Linked DNA regions of Homo sapiens: all the other regions are linked to region 1. The links are contacts of gene promoters, found by promoter capture Hi-C in human tissues and cell types (Jung and others, 2019). All regions are on one chromosome and are shown on one strand. The core of a region is centred on a gene start or on the middle of the fragment in contact, and the rest is flanking DNA. Distances in the headings are between cores, read along the strand shown. Region 1 holds the start of NKAIN3 (sodium/potassium transporting ATPase interacting 3). Region 2 overlaps NKAIN3 (sodium/potassium transporting ATPase interacting 3). Region 3 overlaps NKAIN3 (sodium/potassium transporting ATPase interacting 3).

Region 1 (3,950 bases), core at 809-3,308:
TTATAACAGAGGAAAAAGCGAAGTGCTATGAGATTATAGGAATATAAGGGATTTTACCTGGAGCACCAAGGAAGACTTCATTAAAAAATGGAATTTTAAGATAAGCTTTGACAAATAAGTTGCATTTGTATCAACTAAGAAAGTGGAAAGAAGGGGCATGCTTGGCTGATGGATGAAATCTCAAAAACATTATCATCACAATGCCTGTTAAGAAAATCATAATTGCATTGATAAATCTGCTACATAAAAACCTTACTTGTTATTTCCATGTAAAATAGAAATTAGGCATTATAGATTATGCAATCCAGCATGCCTATCTATAATCTTACATTGAATCAAGGGTTGACTCAATGTTTAGTCAGTTTTTCCAACTTATAAGCCATGTCCATTTCTGAAAACCAAAATACAAATCAAGCTCCTGCCTTCTTTTCTTAGTGAAAGAAAACATTCATATTGTTTTAAATTTTTAAAATTTTTTTCAAGAAACTATAAAATATGTTTGATTCAAGTATTTCACAAGACAGAAGGCACTATCCAATAGGCTTAAAAAGTCACTGATTTCAAACCTACGAATACATAAATTATGCATGCATTATGTGAACAATGAAGGGCACATCCAAAGTGAGGTTTTCATGGGAGACTGGAACACTGAGGCAAGAGAAAAGTGAAAACATTCTAAAGCCTTCATGTAAACAAGGACTAACTACTAAAAAGCACGATTTTATCCCTCAGTTAATAAGTCTTGCAAGGGATGACATTACTAAGTAAAGTTCATTGCAAGCTTTTTCCTCTCACTTGTCAAAATATACTAGTTTATATTTGTGACTCGAAAAAAAATACAATGCTTGGAAGAAAGCTTGGCAGAGCACTCAGAATCTGTCTGAAGTATAACGCAAGGGAGATGTCTATTAATCTCTCACACACAAAAGTCTGACTCAAAAGGTCTGTGGCCTTGACCTCAAGTGACCATGGAATAGACCACAGAGCCAGTCCAGGATCCAAAGGGATTAAGAGGAGCATTTGCTCTGCTCTGAAAGGGCCTTTTTTCCCCACTCTAGTTTCTAACTTCCCATTACACACACTCCCTCTGCAAGGCACCGCGCCAATGGAGCCGGTTCACTCTGTTCTCTCCTTGATGACAGCTGTCAGTCTGTCGCCGCCTGAACATGCAACATTTCAACAAAATCCAAAGCGGAACTGGAAGGGCAGGGGCTGAAGCACACAGCCTGATCTCCTTCCTGGAGGTCCCAGACTCCTTAACCATCACTTTTCAACCTGCTTAAGGTTAGAACCACCTCACTCTTCACTAACAGAGTTGAGGCAGCTTCTGTCTCCTCAGAACCTGGGCATTCCCACACAGTGTAATTAAGCAACATTCCTGGAAATCATCCTAAGAAGAAAGAGCCCGCAAGTCCCCGTGTAACTTCAGCACGAACGCGGAGGGTGCTAAACCAGGTATCGGATCAAGGGGCGGGAAAATCCCTCACTCCGCCGGCTCCTGGCCCCTGGACCGCGTGGCGACGCCCGGCGGGAGCGCGGCGAACCCCAGCGCATGGGACCGGGGGTGAGACCGCGCCCTCCTGCAGGGCAGGGGCGACCTGGCGAGTGCCCGCGGCTGGAGAGCAGTGCGAGCCCAGCCAGGCGGTGGGGAGGGTGGGAGGCGGGCGGAGCGCCCTGTTCACCCGTTCGCCCCTTGCCGGGAGCTGCGGAACCGCAGAGGGAGTCGCAGAGGCCGGTCCTGGAGCAGGGACCTGTCCTGGGGCAGGGGCCCTCGGGGCACTCACCAACTGCAGCGCGCAGAGGCAGATGAGCGAGCAGCGTCCGGTGCAGCAGCCCATGGTGCCGGCGGCGTCCGAGCGGCGCTGACTGCCAGAGATCCTCGTCCTCCGCCGCTGCTGCCTCCTGACTCCGGAGTAGTCCCCGCCCGGCCCGGCCCAGGCTCCTCGGCCCCGCGGCCGCCGCTCGCGGCTCCAGGGCTCGGGGCTCGCGCCCGCCTTTGTTAGTTTCCCGGCGGGGCGGGCCGAGGTCAGTGCGGTGCGCACGACCCGAGCGTCTGGCGGGGGTCCCTGCGTCCCACTGTGCAGGTCTGTTTCTTGGGGAGGGGGAGCCAGGCGGGCGGGGCGGGGGGTTGGAAGGAGGCTACAGATGGCGAGTGGGTGAATGTCTGTTTAGGGGAGGGGAGTATGTAGGAGGTGGGCGTCTGGAAAGTGGAGTGGGCTGTCTGGGTCCGGGTGTGTGTGTGTGTGTGTGTGTGTGGTGGGAAGGGAAGAATGAAAGGGAGTGCCGCTGGGGAGGATCGGCCTGTCTAGTTAAGAGTCTTTGGGGAGAAAGGAAGAGGGACAGAGAGAAAAGAGAATGAATATGAATGAGCGTGAATTAGGGCGGCCGGCGGCGATGGAGACCCTCGTTGACCGGTGTAACTGGGTAGACCCAGCTGGGCTTTCTTGCTGAGGGTTGTGCTGGGGGTTGGGAGGGTGGTCGGACGCGTTTGCAAGGGAGGGGACACGGCTTAGTTGAGCTGCCCCAGAGGTGGCGAGGATGGGAGTTGGGTTAGCTTGGGTTCCGGGGAGGAAGGGCCGGGACGCGAGACACCCAGGGTGGGCGGGCGCCGGGGAGCGCAAGGCCCAGCTCCGGAACCTGCCCGGATGCGAGGGGGCCCGCGGGCGCTGCGCGGGCAAGTCTGTTGAGCCGGCGCTGGGCACGCAGCTCGGGGGTCTCCCATCCGAGCTTGCTTCTGCCCGCCACAGCCGGTTGCCTGGAGGGCGCCCCTGCTGGAGTCTGAAAGGGAAAGTTGGACAGAGTTGGGTGGCAAGGGGCGCTGCGGCGGAGCGATGCACCCGCCCAGGGCGCCGGGACTAGCCAGGACGCCGCGGGGAGACCTGGCTTAAGGTTCTTTTCTCACATACCCTTTGAAATCCTCACCGGGAGGGAGAAAAGAGAAGTCGAGGAAGAAGAAGATGCGTAGCTTTTTCTAGAAATGGAGAAGGTTTCCGGAATAGGTATAAATATATCTTCACAGAAATAAATTGAGAAGGATTTGGAAAGAAGATCTCGGATAGTTAAGATACGGACAAACTCTCTCTGAATCCTGTGGAAACTCTCCTGCTCTCTCCCACCTAATAAAACAGAGCGGAGGCGTTCTGCAGAGGATGAAATTTCATCAGGGCTCAAAGACAGATTTTATGGGCGCATTTGTTGTACCTGGTGGAACTGCGCAAGGAGCTCAAAAGCACACCAGAACAGGGAACAAGCCTGCAGGCCAATTATCTCAGAAAAGGCTGTTTTCAGAATTTGGCACAGAAACCCTGTTTCTAGCCCACTGCTGCCCTCCTGGGTTCTTGGCGGTAGGTTGGTAAGAAAAGGCAAGACATCTTTGCGTTTTTAATACTTCCACTCCAGACATGGAAACTGCTCAAGCCGTTAGTTCAGGCGTTAAAAGCAGTCCTGTTTTTATTTTTATCCTTTCTGAAACGTTTCTTCAGGATCTATGTTTATAATTTAAGACGGTTATCATTCCCAAGGAAGTCTGCACATCTTTGAAATTCTAGTAGGGACACATGAATAACCTCAGGATTTGGGTTATTAAAAGGGTCAAGAACATTCATTGTTTACATTCCACCTCTGATATTATCATGGAGACAGGAGAAGTCCAGTCAGAACTCCTCCTCCTTTTTTAATTCAAGCGTTAAGACATCAGTGATCAAGGATCATGTGAGCACGCTGCCTTTATGCACAATCCACGTACTCGTCATCATTCTTTATGGATGAAAACAATAGAAAAAAATGAACACTGACAAATAAGTAGTTTAGCATGTAGAAAAGGACATTGCAGAACATCTCAGGCCATTGACCCCTCTAAAAGCTGTAGGAAGCAGCTGAAAAGTGAGAGGACATGAACAAGTCTTCTATCTATAACTTCCAGAAATTGTTGTAACCTTTTCATCTCCAGA
Region 2 (4,079 bases), core at 597-3,096, 150 kb before region 1:
TCGTTATAACCTGGTACCTGGGAAACAAAGCCGCAATAAGAAGCTTCTCTGAAGTGATAGGTAGGGGACATTTTCCTAATAGTGATTAACACAAGAATAGTTACAGGGGCAAAATAATGAAGAACTTGTCATAGGAGTAAAGTGTAAATTTTGTAATTTGGTTTAGCAGAATAGACAGGGTAAGTAGGGCTAAAATTATCAGGTTATTAATTAGTAGAAAGTTAACACACACATCAAATTTATTCTACTATAAATTAAGAGCCACAATTGTTTAAGCAAAAAGTGAAATAAAAATACTATGATAAACACATTGGTATCTTAAGCTATGGAGTGCCCAGGAAATACCTTGTCCTTTTAATACAAGGAATATCTGAGAATTAATTCTGTAAATTAATTTACATTCCAGTATAAACTGCCTTTGTAAGAAAAGCCTAAGCTTTTCATTGTATAATTGTCCTGAAGAGCACTGATACACTAAGGAGAGTATAGGCTTAGGCACCGGGTTGCGGCCTAGCCAAATAAGAAGGGGGCTTTTGAGGGGACTTCTCTAAACTGAACTGCCTAAGATTCTAAAAGGGAAATAATCACACAAGGGAAGCTTCTATAGTGGAAACAATCACCTTTGTGCATAAGGGTCTTCTGAGGATAAAAATAAAGCAGCTCTAAGAAAGTGTGTGTGTGCATGTGTGTGTGTGAGAGAGACATAATTAACACTAAACATTACACTAAAGGATTAAGGTTTTCCCTGTAAGTACTGATGTCTGTATAGTGTGCTATTAAAATAATGTGGTAGTACATTTTTAAAAACCTCTTTTTTCTTCAAAATAAATTGCCACATTTCTATAATTCTGGTAGCTCATAAAGTAATAAATCTGGAGACTTAAGCCTCACTATATGGGTGATTTAAATACACATTTTACAATTTTTTAACAGGAAAATTCATCAGTTTCTTTGAAAGAATAATTAACATTTAAAAATAGCTATGCAACTACTTTTTTAATTTAAAAAGCAGAACCTCTATTGATCAATTGCTCAAGTATTTCTATCTTCTAATATGTATATCTAATTGAGATCTATATCTACTTATCACTTCAGAGAAGCTTAAGATATCTATCAAATTAAGATATATGTATAATTAAGATATGTTGCTAATGAAGATAGATATCAGGATATATATGTATGTGTGTGGATATGTGGATGTGTGTGGAACTTTGGATAAATATCTTTATTAAAATTGAAAACAACGTTCCAGAATTTACATAAGCATCTACAAAAAATACTCTGATATTTAGATATTTAGCTATAAAGAAAAGTCTCTTGCTTAAAATAATTTTAAATCTGTACAATGGGACGATTCTCAATTTGTTTGTTTCATAGACTTTTTTTTCATGAATCCTTAAAGATATTACCAAATAGAGTGCCTCCGCCTGGTTCCCGCACCGCCTGGGAAGTGAAGAGCGCTTCTGCCGGGCCACCCCCCACCACCACCTCCCTCGGTCTGGGAAGTGAGGGTCGCCTCTGCCCGGCCGCCCCACCGTCTGGGAAGTGAGGGGGGCCTCCGCCCGGCCCCGCGCAATGTCTGGGAAGTGAGGAGCGCCTCTGCCTGGCCACCTCTCCCCGCACCTCCCTCGGTCTGGGAAGTGAGGGGCGCTGCTGCCCGTCCGCTGCACCATCTGGAAAGTGAGGACCGCCTCTGTCCCGTCGCCGCCCCGTCTGGGAAGTGAGGAGCACCTCTGTCCCGTCGCCCCATCATCTGAGAAGTGATGAGCGCCTCTGCCTGGCCGACCCACCGTCTGGGAAGTGAGGAGCGCCTCTGCCCGGCCTCCTCACCATCTGAGAAGTGATGAGCGCCTCTGTCCGGCCGCCGACCCGTCTGGGAAGTGAGGAGCGCCTCTGCTTGGCTGCCCCACCATCTGAGAAGTGATGAGCGCCTCTGTCCAGCCGCCGCCCCGTCGGGGAAGTGATGAGCGCCTCCCCCGGCCGCCCCACCGTCTGAGAAGTGAGCAGCGCCTCTGCTTGGCCGCCCCACCATCTGAGAAGTGATGAGAGTCTCTGCTTGGCCGCCCCACCATCTGAGAAGTGATGAGCGCCTCTGCCCAGCCGCCACCCCGTCTGGGAAGTGATGAGCACCTCTGCTTGGCCGCCCCACCGTCTGAGAAGTGATGAGCGCCTCTGCCCCGCTGCCGCCAGGTCTGGGAAGTGAGGAGCACCTCTGTCTGGCCACCACATTGTCTGGGAAGTGAGGAGCGCCTTTGACTGGCCACTGTGCAACCCTCCAAGTGTGAAGTGGCAGCCTTGTGTGTGATCTTTATGCCCTCCCCAGGTTTGCATTTTGACATTAAAGTTTACTTTTAAATTAAAAAAAAAAAATAGCAATTACAGTCAAGAAAAAAATACAATAACTCACCAAGAACAAATGTAATTTTTCTCATGTATACACAGTTGGTTTAACATCCGAAGGTTAACAAATGTAGTATTATATAAATGTAACGTATCTAAGCATATTACCTAAATGTAATAAAGAGAAAAACTGTAAGATTATCTTAGTAGAGGAAGAAAAAACATTTAACAAGATTCAGCACCATTCATGATTTAAAAAAAAATGTAATGAGAAATGGAGGAAAACGTCTTTAACCTGATAAAGCGTATCTATGAAAAATGTAAAACTAACTTCATATTTAATGATGAAAAACAGAATGTTTTCTCCTGAAATTGGGAAAAAGGCAAAGAATGTCCACTCTCACCGCTGCAAGTATAGCAAGACAAAAAAGAAATAAATGAAAGGCACATGTTAGAATGGAAGTAACAATAGTGCATTTATTTGCATATGACATGGTGTATGTAGAAAATCTTAAAGAACCTAATATAAAGCTTCCTAAAGCTAATGAGTCTAACACATTCTCAAGATATAAACTAACATGCAAAAATCAATTTTATTTTATACACCAGAAATAAACAACCTGACAATAAAATCAAATTTTAATTAACTACAGCATATACCATAAAAAGAAAAACTCTTACAAATAAATTTAACAAAAAGATGTGCAATGTCTGTGAACTGAAAACTCTAAAGCATTGCTTTAAAAAGTTAAGGCTTATCTAAATGGAAATATATACTTTTTTATTAATTTGAAAATTCACCATTTTTAAGAGGTCAATTCTTCCAGAATTGACTATAAATTGAATACATTCAGAATCAAAATCCTAGCAGTCTCTATATAAGAATTTGACAAGCCAATGTTAATATTTGTAAGGAAAGGCAAATAATCTAGAAAAGCTTAAAAATTTTTTTAAGAAAAAACAAAATCAGATGAATCAAATTAGCTGGTATTTAAGATTTACAATAAAAGCACTCTAAGGAGTATGAGATTGGCATAAGGATTGACATAAAGATCAACTAAAAGGAATTTTGAGTCCAGAAATATACCCACAATTATTATATTGTAGATGGGTTTTCAACAAAGATACCAAGGAAATTCAATGAAATGAAGATCGTGTTTTCAATAAATGGATTTAGAATAAATGAATATAAATATAGAAAAAAAACTTTGACCCTTTCCTCATACCATACACAAAAAGTATACAAACCTGATTATCAACTTAAATATAAGAGGTAAAACTATAAAGCTTTTAGAAGAAAATCTGGGAGAAATCTTTATCAATTTCCTCAATACCAACCATAGAATATTGTATTACAAATGTAAACACTTTAGTTCTTTAAGAAAAATCATGGATATGCAATACTCTGGTGTCTCTTCATAAACTAATAATGTTTCATTTACGTTTTCCACTAAGTATGACCAGCGATTCTACTGAAATTTAGAGACCTGCACCATGTTAATCTTTCTTAACCTTTCACTTAAACTTTCATGCCAATAAACCAACACTTCTGCACATTATCAACATGAAGATTTGTACTGCTGTTACAGTCCAGGAGACTGAGAATGCTGAATATAAAATTAATTTTCCTTATCTCTAAGTCATATATTTTATTTGTAGTATTTTTGAAGAGGGTATTTGAAATATTTAAAAAATTCTAATCTGCAGTTTTAAAAAATGACAAGACCATATGAATTATG
Region 3 (3,706 bases), core at 431-2,930, 190 kb before region 1:
AGTGTTCAATAGATCAGTATGGTGACTATAGCTAATATTAATCAATTGTACATTTCAAAGTAGCTAGAAGATAATGATTTGAAGGTTACTAGCATAAAGAAAAGATAAAATTTTAAGGTGATGGATATCTCAATTACCCTGATTTGTCCTTCACATATTATATATTATATAAATTATGAAATTATCACTTGTATCCCAAAAATATGTACATGTATTACATATCAATAAAAAGGCATTATAAATTTATTAGAAGGCAGCACGTCATAGTGGTAAAGAGTATAGGCTCAGGTTCAAGTATTGGAACCATTAACTGTTTATCTTTAGGCAAGCTATTTAAAATTCCACTGGCTGTTTTTTATATATAAAGTAACGCTAACAGTAATGCCTGTTAGAGCTTTATATAAATGAAATGAGATGATACAGGCAAAGTGCTTACAAGACTGCTTGGAGCATAGTTTACAACAAAAAATTATTTCTGTAAGAATGAATTTTTAGAAATTGTTCTAAAATATTACCTATGAGATATACATATTAGTGGCAAAAAGATGCAGAAAAAATCAAAAAGAAAGAGAAGAGAAAAATTATAAAATAAGAAAATAATAATAACTAATTGACAATTGTGGTGGCAGTTAAAATACCAGTCAAGGCTGGGCATGGTGACTCACGCACCCCAATAAATCCCAGCACTTTGGGAGGCTGAGGCAGGTGGATCGCTTGAGGCCAGGAGTTCAAGACTAGCCTGGCCAAGATGGTGAAACCCTTTCTGAACTAAAAATATAAAATTAGCCTGGCATGGTGGCTCGCACCTCTAGTCCCAGCTACTCGGGAGGCTGAGGCAGGAGAATCTCTTGAATCCGGAAGGTGGACGTTGCAGTGAGCCGAGATTGTGCCACTGTACTCCAGCCTGGGTGACAGAGTGAGACTTTGTCTCAAAAAATAAAATAAAATAAATAAAATATCAGTTAAAATACAAAGTAGGACAACAAGTAAATTGAAAGCAGCAATGAAGGACAATATATAATACTACGAAAGATAATAAGTGAAAAGTCCATAATAATCATATTATGAGTCTATCTATACTTGAAATACAAAAAAGCAGAAATCATCACATCTATAGGAAAAATAGATTCATAAACAATTGTTCATGAACAATTGTGATTGGGATTTTAAAAGAGAAAACTTAGAAACTGATAAAGAAAAAAGAATAAGAAAAATTCTAGAACTTTTGAATAAGATGGCTCATAAACTTAATAGATATATGCCTAATTTTATATCAGACAAGGAGAAAAGACATGTTAAGTACACATGGAATATACACAAAAGTCAATGCTGAATGAACTCTCAAAGGAAGCCTCAATAAACTTCAAAACATCAATATCATACATATTATGTATGATATATTTTTCACTGATCAAGTGAAAAATAATTAGATCAATGAAGAAAATAGTTAAAAATGGACATATTTGTATCCTAAAACACTTATGACCAGATGAACTTGGGTCAAAATGGTAATGGTATGGGGGAATAAGGAACAATTTAGAGCTAAGTGACAATTAAAAACCTATATATCAACAATTGAGGGCATAGCTCAATCAAGAAATTTATGGAAAAATTACAGCTTTCAATGGATCTATCAGACCACAAGAGGAAGTGAAAACAAGTTAGATATTATAAAAAACATAAAAAATACTATAATAAAGCCAAAAATAAAAAGAAAATAAAAAAATTAAAGGCAGCAATCAGTGAAATAAAAAAGAAACATTAACCAGTCAAAAAGATGAGGAAACCAAAAATTGATTATTTGAAAATACTAAAAGTTAGATAACCTCTGTTAATACTTATTTTTCAGTGTCTATGGGAGGGCAATAGACCAAATAAATATATTATAGAATTTGAAAGGGAAATATCTCCAGGTATTAATGCTATAATAATAAACTACTGTTTTGTGCATCCATATGCCAATAAATTTAGAAATCTAAAACAGAATACATTTCTAGAAAAATATAAAATGCCAAAACTAGTAATATTAGCCTAATGAATAGACAATGACTATTAAAAATTGAAATATAAATTAAATATATTCCTTTCCACCAAAATAGTACAAGGCTCTGATAGTTTTACAAAGAATTCTAGCAAGCTTTCAAGGAACAGATAAGCTAAACTGGATAACTAAAAACAGAAAATTGTATAGGCATTTCTCAGGTGTGAAAAAAATCCAGATTAATTAAATTAGCTTTTATATCTCAACAATTTACAAAAATATATCATGTTCAATAGAGAATATAATGATTTAATATCAGAACATCTATCAATACAAGTCATCAAATTAACAAAATAATAGACAAATGTATATGATTTTCCCAAATGCAAAAAAAGGGGGATGAAATTCAGTCTGATAATCAAAGTCTGGGAAACTTAAAAGTACAGAGAAATCCCTTAACTTGATAAGGAGAATTTATCAAAACCCCACACAACACAATGGGGTGATTTGGTACATATTTTTTAAAGGAGGGGATGAGATAAAGATGTTTCTTATCAATGTTTTTAATTAGATTTGATTTTTTTCTATATTGTACTAAAGATCCTAGAAAATGTAATAAGAAAATAAAATAATAGGAATAGATAAAAATTATTAATTACCAATATATGTTCATCTACAAAGCAAATCTAATGTAGTTAACAGGCACATTCTTAAAAATTATAAGGTAGTTCTGGGAAGTTGTTTGATATGAGATTAATTTTCAAAAATTTACCTATACCAGGCATAATCAAGTAAAAAATAAAATTAAAAATAAGATAATATTAAAACTCACAAGATAAAATATTTAGGAATTACAATAATAGTTGTGTAAACAATGCACAAGACATTATAGAGAATATTTTAGATTTTCAAGCTTTAGTAATTCCACTTACAGATATAAAAACTTGAAGAAATAAAGTTACACTCTTTTCCCTGATAGACAATTCAACATTGTAAAGATGTTAATTCTTTTCAAAGACATCTATAATGAAGACTTAGGAAAAACAGCTGATCTTATCAGATATGAAGGCATACCGAAAAACAAAATAAAATAAAACAAAATCCCACAGCTATATAGTAGTAAAAATAGCATATTATCTCTTAAAATCAGTAATATTATCTCCTACTTCTTTAAAAATAATAAAAAGCTTAGCCCTTTGAATCAATAAGACCTAATATTCCTGGAGAATATTTATATTCAAAACTATAGATGTCATGAAAAGCAAGAGGTAAAACAAAGTAGAAATAGGATAGCAAACAAATAAAACAAAAAACCAAGGTGAATGTTGATTAAGTAGCACCAGATGAAGCCTTCAAAATGGAGGCGGGTAACATGGCAGCACAAGACAGGTTCCGCATTGAGGATGATTTTGAGGATAAAATTTGAAAAAACCATGGCAGTCGAAACAAATTAGGATATTCGGAACAGCAGCTTTGAGCAGACATTCATCACCCTGCACTGAATAAACTCTTGCAATAGCCAGAAAACAGATCTACTTGCCTCTGGCAGCCCATGGCTACATTAATCTTTCTGGAACACTGCATGCCAAGGTCTTTCATTGACATCTGTATTTCACAGTCGTTAGCTCTCTCTTGAAGAAAAAAAAAAATAAAGAAGAAGAAGAAAAAGAAGGAAGGAGGGGAGTGAGTATGGTCGTTAGAGAGTTAATGAAGAGCAAGAGATTT

What was found. Contacts are between HindIII fragments. The study calls those that stand out against the background at their distance.
Region 2: a contact is called between a fragment that was not itself captured here and the fragment with the promoter of NKAIN3 in region 1, in 4 of the 25 tissues and cell types used here (IMR-90 fibroblasts, bladder, heart left ventricle and 1 more).
Region 3: a fragment that was not itself captured here is called in contact with the fragment with the promoter of NKAIN3 in region 1 in 2 of the 25 tissues and cell types used here (H1 embryonic stem cells and hippocampus).

The regions. Positions count from the first base shown.
Region 1 is chr8:62,246,962-62,250,911 of GRCh38, reverse strand. NKAIN3 (sodium/potassium transporting ATPase interacting 3) reads right to left here and starts at 2,058. Exons shown (of 7, transcript NM_001304533.3): 1 at 1,785-2,058. The coding sequence starts at 1,838. It overlaps LOC124901952 (a long non-coding RNA gene), which reads left to right. Exons shown (of 2, transcript XR_007060932.1): 1 at 1-1,455. The HindIII fragment of the contact is 6,824 bases long and covers 444-3,950 here.
Region 2 is chr8:62,392,771-62,396,849 of GRCh38, reverse strand. The region is part of intron 1 of NKAIN3 (sodium/potassium transporting ATPase interacting 3); the gene reads right to left. It also overlaps the pseudogene LOC112268028. Among named protein-coding and RNA genes, the nearest start is that of NKAIN3, 150 kb to the right of the region's middle. The HindIII fragment of the contact is 3,212 bases long and covers 241-3,452 here.
Region 3 is chr8:62,440,627-62,444,332 of GRCh38, reverse strand. The region is part of intron 1 of NKAIN3 (sodium/potassium transporting ATPase interacting 3); the gene reads right to left. Among named protein-coding and RNA genes, the nearest start is that of NKAIN3, 190 kb to the right of the region's middle. The HindIII fragment of the contact is 3,821 bases long and covers 1-3,590 here.